Regions from separate parts of the Homo sapiens genome. Here region 2 is linked to region 1. Evidence: promoter capture Hi-C in 16 types of primary human blood cells and fetal thymus (Javierre and others, 2016). All regions are on one chromosome and are shown on one strand. Each heading gives the region's core, a stretch centred on a gene start or on the middle of the fragment in contact. The rest is flanking DNA. Distances are from core to core; before and after follow the strand shown. Region 1 holds the start of USP46 (ubiquitin specific peptidase 46). Region 2 overlaps SCFD2 (sec1 family domain containing 2).

The links. Contacts are between HindIII fragments. The CHiCAGO score rates a contact against its expected background, and 5 or more counts as called.
Region 2: a fragment that was not itself captured here is called in contact with the fragment with the promoter of USP46 in region 1 in 1 of 17 cell types (M0 macrophages); the score reaches 5.5 in M0 macrophages.

Annotation. Positions count from the first base shown.
Region 1 is chr4:52,657,247-52,663,060 of GRCh38, forward strand. It overlaps USP46 (ubiquitin specific peptidase 46), which reads right to left and starts at 2,055. Exons shown (of 9, transcript NM_022832.4): 1 at 1,869-2,055. The coding sequence starts at 1,904. USP46-DT (USP46 divergent transcript) reads left to right here and starts at 2,160. Exons shown (of 2, transcript NR_125363.1): 1 at 2,160-2,430; 2 at 3,646-4,252. RefSeq lists silencers at 1,509-2,028, 2,039-2,468. The HindIII fragment of the contact is 3,165 bases long and covers 760-3,924 here.
Region 2 is chr4:52,949,256-52,954,866 of GRCh38, forward strand. All of the region lies in intron 5 of SCFD2 (sec1 family domain containing 2), which reads right to left. SCFD2-AS1 (SCFD2 antisense RNA 1) reads left to right here. Exons shown (of 3, transcript XR_245255.4): 3 at 1-1,767. Among named protein-coding and RNA genes, the nearest start is that of SCFD2-AS1, 25 kb to the left of the region's middle. RefSeq lists an enhancer at 1,025-1,962. The HindIII fragment of the contact is 878 bases long and covers 2,421-3,298 here.

The DNA.
Region 1 (5,814 bases), core at 805-3,304:
GCAGTATTGGCCTGCTCCTCTCAGGTCCTCCCCACACCCTGTCTCCCTGACTGAGTTTCACTGAAACACGTTGTGACATTCAGCCCAGGTGTGCCAGAAAGCCCCCGCAGCACTGAGGGTGGGTGGGGGGACGCGTGGGGGGAGGTTGGGGGCTGGCTTCCTCTAGGGGCATGCTAGCTCTCAAGTTTCCAGCCTGCTTCTACACAGAGAGGTGTAACCACACACAAGCAGGACAAGAACACCACCAAGGGCTGGGTCGGAGCCTCACTACCCTGTAGTATCCTTAGGCCTGCGGCCACACCAACAGACATAAAAGAGTATTCAAGCTGCTCCCGATTCACAGTTCCCTCAGGAACTGGTCGTAGGAGAGAAACTGAGAAGGCATCACCTCTTCACAAGCAGCCCCTCCACAGGAATAAGAGGAAATCTGACTCCTCGCAGAGAAAGGAAAAAAAGAGAAAACAGAAAGGCTCTAGGATCCACTCCCCGTATGGAACTCGCCCGGCACCAACCAGTACCTGTGCAGCTATCACTCTGGGAGGCCCCAGCATTTGCTTTGCTGGCCGTGACAGTGGCACGTCCCATTGTGCTGAAAGCTGAAGCCAGCGGGTCTCAATTCCACCCCTGAGCTAACACAAGGCTTCTTAATGCTCCTTTGCCATGTGTTGATCTTGCAACAGAATGTGGGACAGAAGATTTAAAAAGCTATGTGATGGGGGAAGGGCAGCCAGATCACCTTACACCAGGGCTTCTCCATCAAGCTTCCTTGGATTCCCTTTAGGGGCCAGTATTACTAGCTTCAAGGGAGGTTTTCCTCAAACTGGCACTGTAAGAGCACGTGTTGCCTCCGGGGACCCGCTTGGGAGGGGGCTAGAGGGGAGGCGGGGTGCAGTCTAAAGAATGTAGGCAAAACACACATCATCTCACCCTGCAAGGGACAGCAATGCCTTACTCCAATCTGAGCTCCCCAAAGGCTCTGACAAGTGGAGGCGCCAGCAGGGTCCAGCCTGGGGACCCAAGGGCTGGAGGTTCTTCCTACAGAAAAAGGGAAAGCAATGGGGGAAACCCAAATTAAAGTGACCACCGCATCATGGGCTCGGACTGCATCAGAACCCAGTGATGTCCCTGGCTGTATCCATGCCCGCCAGCCTCCCCTAGGTCTACAGCGGATCAGGCAGGATAACCCTGGAGACCTCCTCCAAGCCCACAGCCCGCCCCACCCTTAGGGCCTGCAAATATTACCGCCACAGAGCCTTGTCCCTTTTTCACAGATGGGGAAACTGAGGCATGCGGAGCAAATTACGGTGCTTTTTCAAACCAGGTTGAAGTTCACTTCTCCAGCCACAATTTTGCACTTTTTTTACAGCTTTATTACATTTCCGATTTCTCCAGATACACAATTGCTATTGCAAAGTGAATTTTAAACACCTCGGAAGGACTGAACTCAAAATGAGATGAGGGCAGTCTGGACGTCCAATAAGGCTGTCTTGACCGCAAGAAGAGGATGGGTGCCCCCCACCTCCAGCTTATCCCCCACCCCCTCCCCGGGGACGTTCAGGTTCGGTCGCTTCCCTTCCCTCAAGCCGCTTCCACCGCAACCCGAGGGCGGGGGGCGCAGCAGCGCGGCCCCGGGATCGCCGGGCGGGTTCCGAGGTCCCGGGGCTGAGACGGGCGCCGGGGGCTCGGGGACCCTCCCCGGCCGCTGAGGTGGCTGCGGCCGCGCGCCCAGCTCGGGGGCCGGGAACTTCTGGCGGCGCGGACCCCGCCGCCCCCGCCGCCCCAGCCACCGGGCGTGTGTGCAGCTCGGGCTTCCCTTTCTTTGCCTCGCCGCGAGTCGGGCGCGACCCCGAGGCGGCTCGGCCACTCACCATATTACAGATGGAGGCGATGTTTCGGACAGTCATTAGTCTAAAGGTTGCAGCGATCCCTCACCGCCATCTTTACAAGGGGAAACCGGGACTGCCCATGGTGGCGCGCTGGCGGGGAGGCCGGGCGGCAGCGCGGCGGCCTGGGGTCCGGCTTTCAGTTTGGCTGGGAGAGGGAGGCCGGGAGGAGGAGGCGGCGGCGCGGGGAGGGCGGGGAGGGAGCGCGGAGGGGCGGGGAGTGGCGGAGCGAGGGAGCCTGGGCCGCGGCCGGCGGCGCGGGGAGGAGGGGCGGCCCGGGCGCGCCGCGTGAGTCCGAGCCGGCCGCTCAGAGCGCTCCAGGCTGGGTTCCCGGGCCCCGCCGCGCCGCCTCCTTCCCAGCTCGCCCGCCCAGGCCTGGCCTCCTGCTTTTCCATTTGATTCCCTGCCTCTTTCTATTCGGACTGGAATGCCGGGCCAGGCTCCGGGGCGCGCCGCTGCGGCAGCCGCACCTCGCAGGTCCCCCGGCCGACCCCGACGCGGAAGCGGCGGCCCTCCTCGCCGTCGGGGAGCCAGGGAGCCGGGGACGGTACGGTGCGCGGGGTGGGGAAGCGGGCGGCCCAGGCCGGGGCGAACCCGGGGCCGCCTTCCGTCCTCGCTTTTTCCTCGTCGCCTTCCTCCTGGCGGGCCTCGGCAGCCCCCGGTGTTTATTTTTTGGCGAGGGGTAGGGGTGGCGACGTCCAACTTTTAGTTCCTCCCGAGGGTTCCAACCAGATGGCACCGGCGGGGACCCAAGAAGTAAAATGGGGCGAGGACACCGGAGCGGTCAGAGAGCCCTCGCCAGCTGCGGGCCGGGCGCCCGAGAAAGGGCGCCGGGAAGGGGGAGGAATCCGGGTCTGGGCGGAGGCCAGCAGCGGCGCGCTCGGGCGGCTTGTGACATTAGCGGGTCCAAAGGAGACGTCCCGGTTCCGCGCAAGCACTAGGGACTGTCCAAGGAGTGGAAAGAACGAAAACAAAACTTTTCCATATCTTCAAGGCAGGCATACCCCTCTCGGGTGCACCCAGCCTCTAGTTGTTGAGATGGGCGCTGTATGGGATCATGCACATTTCCCGCATTAAAGGTCGTGGCTGCGGGCTCAGAGCGCGAGTCTGTGCACCACTTAGCAGATAGGTCCACGCGAATTGAAGGGGCCCGTTTCTGAATGTGTGGAACAGTTACACATACAAGGTTGCAATTCGATGCTTTCAAAGGAGAAATTGTACAAGTGAGATGCGTGATAAATTCTTAGATCAGTGTATTTAATGACAAATTGAATCAGAAGAAAAATTAGTTGAAGATAGCTTTTATCTAACCAAGAGTAAAGATTTGAGAGCCGTTGATTGCTAATATCCCTAGAATCTGGGGAGGAAACAGTAAGACAGACTTGTTGACTGAAGGTTTTGGGAGTCATGTCACTGTGTTTTCCAGTGGACATGAGAAATAATATTCCTGCTTAAGTCTTTCAACCTAAATATTATTTCCAAATACATCCTGATGATAATTTCTTCCATTGTAAGTCATGACTGATTTTCTTCTCTCTCTCTCTGTTTTTTAAGAGACAGGTTCTCGCTATGTTGCCCAGCCTGAGGCTGGGCAGCCCCGAGTCATCCCAAACTCCTGGGCTCCAGCAATCATCCCACCTTGGCCTCCCAAAGCGCTGGGACAACAGGCGTGAACCACTGCACCCAATGTTTACATTCCTGATCTCCTTTAATCGCCACCATAACTATCAGCTGGTACATGCTATTATCTCCTTTTTTGCAGATCAGTCACATAAGGCTTAGAGGATCAAGGATCCTGCCCAGATGACTTACCGAAATGTTACAGATTAAGTTGGTGTGGTAACCTGGGCTGAGCACTCTGGGAGAGGAAGAGAAGAGAGAAGACAGGAAACAACTGAACTATGACCAATCCCAGCACGGAGGCCCAGAAAACTTTAAGATTTGAGTATTAATGTCTCAAGGTCAGGAGCAACCTCAAGGCTAAAACTCAGATCTCAGGACTCAATTTCACAGAAGTTCCACTATAAAGGCAATAATCTAAAGCTTTAAATGATATGAAAATTTTGTAATAAGAGTTCAGTATTTCTGCCAACATTGGCGCATGGATTGCAAAGTTCACAGGATTGAAAACACCATCGACATAATGGAAATTGAACAGCATCTGATTACTGAGTGCTATATCAGCAAGTTAAAAGGATCTTTTGCATACCTTTTAATGGTATATATCCTAAAACTGAAGTGTTCAATATAGACATCCAGATTGAAACTCAGGCAGTGAATTACATACACAACAAATCAGTTGAACATGGCAGAGCTTGTCAGACTTATGAAAGATTAAATACATTTTACATTTCCACAAGTGTGGTATTCACAGGTCTAAATTGGAAAATTCTTGGGTTGAAGAAGAATAATCATAATCTTAGCTTCACTCATTGAGGAAACATTATTCAGGGATGATAAGAGGTAAAATCTTAAAAATATTGACAAGCTAATGAGAGAACTTTGAGGTAAGCTGATATGCAGGTATAGTTAGGACTGGGAAAAGCAAGAAAATGGAAGGATGGGTTAGAGGGTGGCACTACACGGCTGATATAGTTTGGATATCTGTCCCCATCCAAATCTCATGTTAAATTGGAATCCCCAATTCTGGAGGCAGAGCTAGAAGGCAGAGCCTGGTGGAAGGTGTTTGCAACATGAGGAAGGATCCCTCATGGCTTGGTGCTGTCTTAACAATAATGAGTGAGTTCTCCCGAGATCTAGTCATTTAAAAGGGTGTGGCACCTCCCCCCCCCCCCGCCCCCGCCAACTCTCTCTTGCTCCTACTCTGCCATATGAATGTTTGTTCCCCCTTTGCCTTCAGCCATGATTAGAAGCTTCATTAGGACTCCTCAGAAGTAGATGTTGGTGCCATACTTCCTGTATAGCCTGTAGTACCATGAACCTCTTCGCTTTATAAATTACCTGGTCTTGGGGATTTCTTTATAGCAATGCAAGAATGACCTAATACAGAAAACTGGTACTGAGAAGTGAGTCATTGCTGTAGAGATACCTGAAAATGTGGAAGCAGCTTTGGAACTTGGTGACAGGCAGAAGTTGGAAGAGTTTGTAGGGCTCAGAAGAAGACAGAAAGATGAGGGAAAGTTTGGAATTTCTTAGGGACTGGTTAAATGGTTGTGACCAAAATGCTGATAGCTAGGACATGAACAGAATGCACCCAAGCACTTTGCTAAGGCAAAACATGCGTGACCTTTGCTCTAGTTCCCAATAATTTCCTTATTTCCATTCGAGACCTCAGAAGCCTGGACTTCAAACCAAAATGCTGATAGTGATGTGAACAGTGAAGTCCAGGCTGCTGAGGCCTCAGATGGAAATTAGGAACTTACTGGGAACTAGAGCAAAGGTCACACAATGTTAACGCCTTAGCAAAGAGCTTAGCTGCCTTCTGTTCATGCCCTAGGAATCTGTGGAAGTTTGAACTTGAGAGTGATGATTTAGGGTATCTGGCAGAAGAAATGTCTAAGCAGCAAAGTGATCAAGAAGTGGTGTGGCTGCTTCTAGCCACTTATATTCAGATGTGGGAGCAAAGACAAAAGGTAGAACTTATATTTAAAAGGGAAGCAGAGCAAAAAAAGTTTGGAAAATTTGCAGCCTGGCCATGTGGCAGAGAAAGAAAAAAGCTTTTTCAGTAGAGGAATTCAAGCAGACTGTGGAACAATTACTTGCTAGAGATGTTTGCAGGATTAAAGGGGAGCCAAGTGCTACTATCCAAGACAATAGGGAAAAAGCCTTGAAAGCATTTCAAAGAACTTCAGAGTGGCTTCTCCCATCACAGGCCCAGAAGCTTAGGAGGAGAGAATAGATTCATGGACTGGGCCCAGGGCCATGGTACCTTGCACAGCCTTGGGACACTGCTCACCACATCCTAGCTGCT
Region 2 (5,611 bases), core at 1,610-4,109, 290 kb after region 1:
CATAAATATTTCACAAATATTTTACATGAATACTTCGACTTATAAGTCCATATTTTAACAATGGCATCTTTTCCAATGTGTACATTATGGAAGTGTGGTTGGGGTGTACAGCCTAGGAGCTCAGGGACTGCACAGGCCTGTTCTTTATGGATGCATTGCATTCATCTCCCACAGCCATTTGTAGCTTCAGCTGTTTCTGAAAGCAGCCACTTTCCCTTTTGATGTCTGAGGTCCATTATTTTCATTTTTGACTTAACCAACAGGTGTTCTCTCTTGAACTCTTTCCTACATGAGCTGTCTTGCCTCAGGGTTCCCACGGACAGGAGAGTTTTTCCTACAGTGTTACTGAGAGGCACAGAGAAATCAGTTCCTCCTGGTCCACTGGCTCCGCTCTCAGCACTGCAGTCTCTTGTGACCACGCTGAAGTCTCAACGTTTCCCCCTTCTGAGGACATGCAGGGACAGAAGGGTGAACCACAAGGGCCAGACCTAATGCTCCAGGAAAACAATGAAAGAACAATTTTCCATCCTTTTATTTAGGGCTTAAGTAAGCCAGGCCTGTAACACCAAATTGTGAGAGTGCACAAGATGTTTTTGAACCTTGGTGCAGAATCCAGAAAGAAGTGCAGCCTCTGGTGACAGGGTCTTGGGCTAGCCATGTGAAGCCTGGCTTTATGTCAGGCCTCTCAAATGTGCTGTACAAACCTACCTGCAGGTCTACTCTAGGCAGAAGGGGTGGACCGATGGCACCAACAAACACATCTGTACACACAACAGTGCAGCAGACACTTGTGGATGGGGTATGAGACAAGCTGTAGATGCCCTCAATTAAATCTGAGGACAAAAGAAGACTGCCCAGAGAGTGGCACTAGCATGGCAACAAAATATTTCAAAATATTAATGGGTTTTACATACACGCATAAAATCACATTTTTCTGACCTTATAACACATTTCAGTCATTTAGGTATTGAGTTTGTAATGCTTGTGGATACTCGAAAAATTGAAAGAGGCAAAGTTAGACTTCTTGTCCCCAAGACTGGAAATATGTCCCTTCGTTGGGAGTTGGGTGGTGTTGAATGCAGTTGGGGTGGAAGGAGAGGAGAGCTAATGGGAAAACAAAGAATAAGTAAATGTTCTACATTCCTGAGAAAAGGGGCCCTGCCCCCTAGCCATCTCTGCAGCAAAGCCCTGGGGGAGAGAGAGAGAATGCTCAGACATGTTTGTAGGTTTACAGAACAAAGGGAATCTATGTTTTACCCTTTGAATGAAATACAGGAAAGCAAAATACCTAGAGCAGAAATGGCTGTGTGACATGTCAGACAAGGTCATAGAGTTTTCCATGGCCCTGCACTGCCCGTGGCTCATGTGGCATGACTGTAGGTGAAACCCAGAATGGACTCTCAAGGTGCCCTGGGCTCCCTTCCTCAATGGCTGAAGAAGGCTTCTCTTGACCTAATGGAGTTTAAAGAGACTTGGGGATATAGTGAACTAGACCCCAGAAGCCTTTCAAACAGGAACTAGGGGGCGCCCACCAGGACCTTGTGGACTGACAGTGGAGGCTCAATGAGACAAAATGTGTCATGGAGATGCCTTCAGGACAGACAGCATTCGGGAACAGATACCAGCTCCTTACAGTCTTGGCCTCCAGATTAGACATGGCCCTGGAAAAAGGTGATGGGGGACCTGGAATTACCAGACAGCAATTCCGTTCCCCCACTTAGTGGAATGGGAGCACAACATGTAAATTAAAGGAATTAGAGAAAAACATTTAAAGTTGCATTTGTTATACACCCGAACATTTATCCTGAGACTGATGCCCACTACACTGGTAAAATCAACCCATAATAGATGTGTTTAGTTTGGGACTAACATACTCTAAGAGGTGGCTTTGATTGATTGATTCATTCATTCATTAATTCTCTCCCTCCCTTCCTTCCTCCCTGACTCACCAAAGAGCCAGCCATTCTGCTGAGTATTAGCAATGTTTTTCTTTAAAAAACTCCAAACACCTATTTCCTGCCCTCAAGATTTAGAAGTTTGGCTAAGACACGGAGAAGCATAGAGAGGCAGAAACAGAAACACTGACGACTAAATCTAATGCAACATGGTAAGGTCTATAACCAACATGCATACTACATTGTCTAAGAGCACAGAAGAAGGCTTGTTAACCTGAGACTGGGAAATCTTTGAAAACTGACAACTCCAATCTAGCCAACCAGTACCCTTAGAAAGACTAACTTACGATTGGAAAGCTGTAATCGACTCAATTATATTGAAAATTTGGGGGGATGTGTTGTGGCAGAAGCATCATCTGCATACTGACTATCTGTAGGATCCACCTAATTTTCCAGCCCCCTAGCAGTTAGGAGAAGTCATGTGATTAGTTCTTGTCAAGAGTCTGTAAGAAGTGATACTCCAAAAGCTTACACGAGACCCTCCAGCTCAGCTCTTCTTTCCCCACCATAGTTTCTGTGGAGACCTCAAGATGGTGCAGCTTTGAGCTGTCTGAGCCTCCATCAGCCTGGATCTTTGAGAAAGTATGTGAAACACAAACCTCACTGAGCCATATTGAACATGTAAAATCAGCAAGAAATAAGGTCTTAATTGAATTAAGTCCTTGAACTTTTTGGGTTAATTTGTTACTGCAGCAAAACTTAATGGCGATGGAGGATTAAAAAAGGGAGCTGGATTACAAAAATGCATTTCAACACTGTGCAGAGGAGAAGGCGCTCTACCCCTAGGTGATCAGTATCTTAAGAACGAAGAGATGATGGAGTGGCAGGCCACAGAGTGATATCTGTACACGGAGACAGTACCTAGAGATGAGCTCAGATGCCAGGTTGGTAAGAGAAGCCTGGACTAGAGGCAGAAGACAGGAGGAAAGCAGGAAAGCCACACTTCTACTTTCTCTCTGTTCGTCTGTCTGAGTAGTAGCCCAAAGCCACTCCCTACCATATCCCCTCTCACCTCCCCATCCCCTCTCACAGCCCCATCCCCTCTCACACCCCCATCCCCTCTCACACCCCCATCCCCTCTCACACCTCTGCCCCAAATGGTCCCACGTGAGGCCCAGACAGTAACACACCACCATCAGGCATCTTTCTGGGGGACAATCTAAAGGCAGCTGCCCTCCTCTCTGCAGGCCCCTGCGGTCTGCTCCAAGGGAATGAATAGCTTCAGACTTGGCACCTTAGAAAGGCTGACAGCTCCTGAGAGAGAAAGCAAGTAAGTTCAACAAGGCCCGTTTAATTTTACTCCAGAAAAAAGTTTATCTTCTCTCCCACAAATAGTAAACATAAGCTTTAAAATGTTTCCATTATTACTGCAATAGTTAATTTTAAAATTTTAATTTCTTTTGAAATAGGCAGTAATCACATATGGGCAACATCTAGGTGACCCCAGCATGGATTGCTGAAGGCCCCTTTCTTTCCTGATACATATCTCATGATTTAGTGTGGAACAGAAAGGTTTACAGCATTACAATCTGTTAGAGATAAGGGGACACATGTTGGAAACAGGTCCATTAGAAAAATGATGATCCTTTCATTCCCTAAATGTCACTTACCTTCTCCCCCACCTTTTCCCAGATAAAAATAGAAATCTTCATGTGACTGAACCATTCCCTGGGAAAGTCACCAAACAGAAGGGAACCAGTGATAAAATGAATGCTAACATCTTGAAATCTAGTAAAAGTATCTTTTTAGTAGCCACAGATAGCAGAAAAGTTTATAACTTTAAAATGTCCCATAGGCCCAGCAACTTTTTCTGCTGGGTAGGGTGAATATGAAGGCTCCTTGGAAAAGTATAAACAAACGAATAACAGTAACAACAACTACAACACCTAGATGGCTCCATTATCTGAGTATTTACAGAGTGCCTGGTACTACTCGGTGCATTACCTTCCTCAGTCCTCACAGTGAGTCCTTGGGAGAGTTACTATCACTGCCTCCACATGGCAAATGAAACACTCTAAAAGCAGCCATTTAACTACAGTAGTTTCCAACTATAGAGTAAAGAATGTGTAACTAGGTTAGTTTGCTTTATAACCTATAGACCTGGTGTCAGTTTATGCCAATGACTGTGATTTGGACTAACATGGGATAGCCAGCCTCAAGTAGACCAAAAAGGGAAGGGACCTCTACTATGTCTACAAGATAGACAAGTTCACAGACAGCGCTGGACACCAACCCTGCCAGCTATGAATATTCCCGATCTAGGAATAAAGAAACAAGCTCAGGGAGGTTAGATCGCTCTCTAAAGTCATGCAGCCCCTGAAGGTGGTGTCAAGGGGAGTCAAAGCATTTCTTTAGCAGCGCCCTGTGAATTCAGTTTCCTTATTCAGGAGACAGGGATTGTGAGGAATGAATGAGAAGATGAACCTGAAACTGCTTTGTCAAGTGTCAAGGGCTGCACAAGTGTGCAGAGGATGGTGGTAAAATCCCAGGAGAATTAATCATCAAGAAGATAATTACCAAGGGACTTACATTAGAGTTTATCCAGAAAAACTACTTCATCCAAGCCAACAACAATGCCAGGACAGCACTGAAATGAAAAGGCTGGGCAGGAATATTTGATAAATAATAAGATTAGCAGTGTACAATAAAGGACAGATGGGCACTTGTTGATTCTTGTTTGGTCAAACACCATTTTATAGTGGAGTGGCTGAGACCATGGACTCCTGGGCCAGGCTGCCTGGGTTCAAATCCTGGTTCTGCCACCTACTAGCTATGTAACTGTGGGTGAGCTGCCTTACCTTTCTGTGCCTCTGCTCCCTCATGGCAGATGGGGACATTCCAAGTACTCATGGCATGGGGTTGCTGTGACATTCACAGGCAGCACAGGGAGCAGTGCCTGGCATAGAGGGCTGCCATCTAAGCATGAGCTGCTCCCACATCCATTTTCCATTCTTGACAGTAAACTTGCTTTCTGTCACCACAACCTCCTCTTCAGTGGCAGGTTGTCCCCAAGTCTTTGGTCTCTCACCTGCCTGTGGAGGACCGGGCTTGATGGGTGGGAAGCAGGCCCCATACCAGGCCAGTCTGAGTGCCTGTATTCTTCTATCAAGTATGTCTTTAGCCTCATCTTCCCATCTTCCTCAAATCTGTGGAAGGTGAGGAAGATGATAGAAGATTACAGGCACTCAGTTCCAAAGATGGAATGCCACTGGAAGGTGAGGAAGTCGGGCGGGTGGCTACAATCCAGCTCCCTTGGGAATTCACAGTTGTAATCTTAACTTGAAAATATTCAGTTGGGCCAAATGAAATTGCTGTTTTGGTAGGTCAAAAATGGCTGAAAAGCAGGAATTTCATATTCCGCCACCTAATCCACATGGGCAAACAGATCAAAAGCTCAGAAAAGCAGCAAGAGAAAGGAACAAGCAGTCTAGGAAAAATCATAAAGGGTGAGTCCAGAGAAAAGTAAATAAAATAACCATGGCTTACACAGCTGCATCAGAATCAAAGAAATGCATAAATTAAGTCCAGGATCTAATCATGTCCTTTAGCACAAACATTAGCTCAAAGAGCTGGCGGTTTTGCAGATGTACACATCTGACTAAAAAGTGGGAAGAGGAGGGATTCTTCCAGGCCATAAAAGAGACATGGAAGAGGCT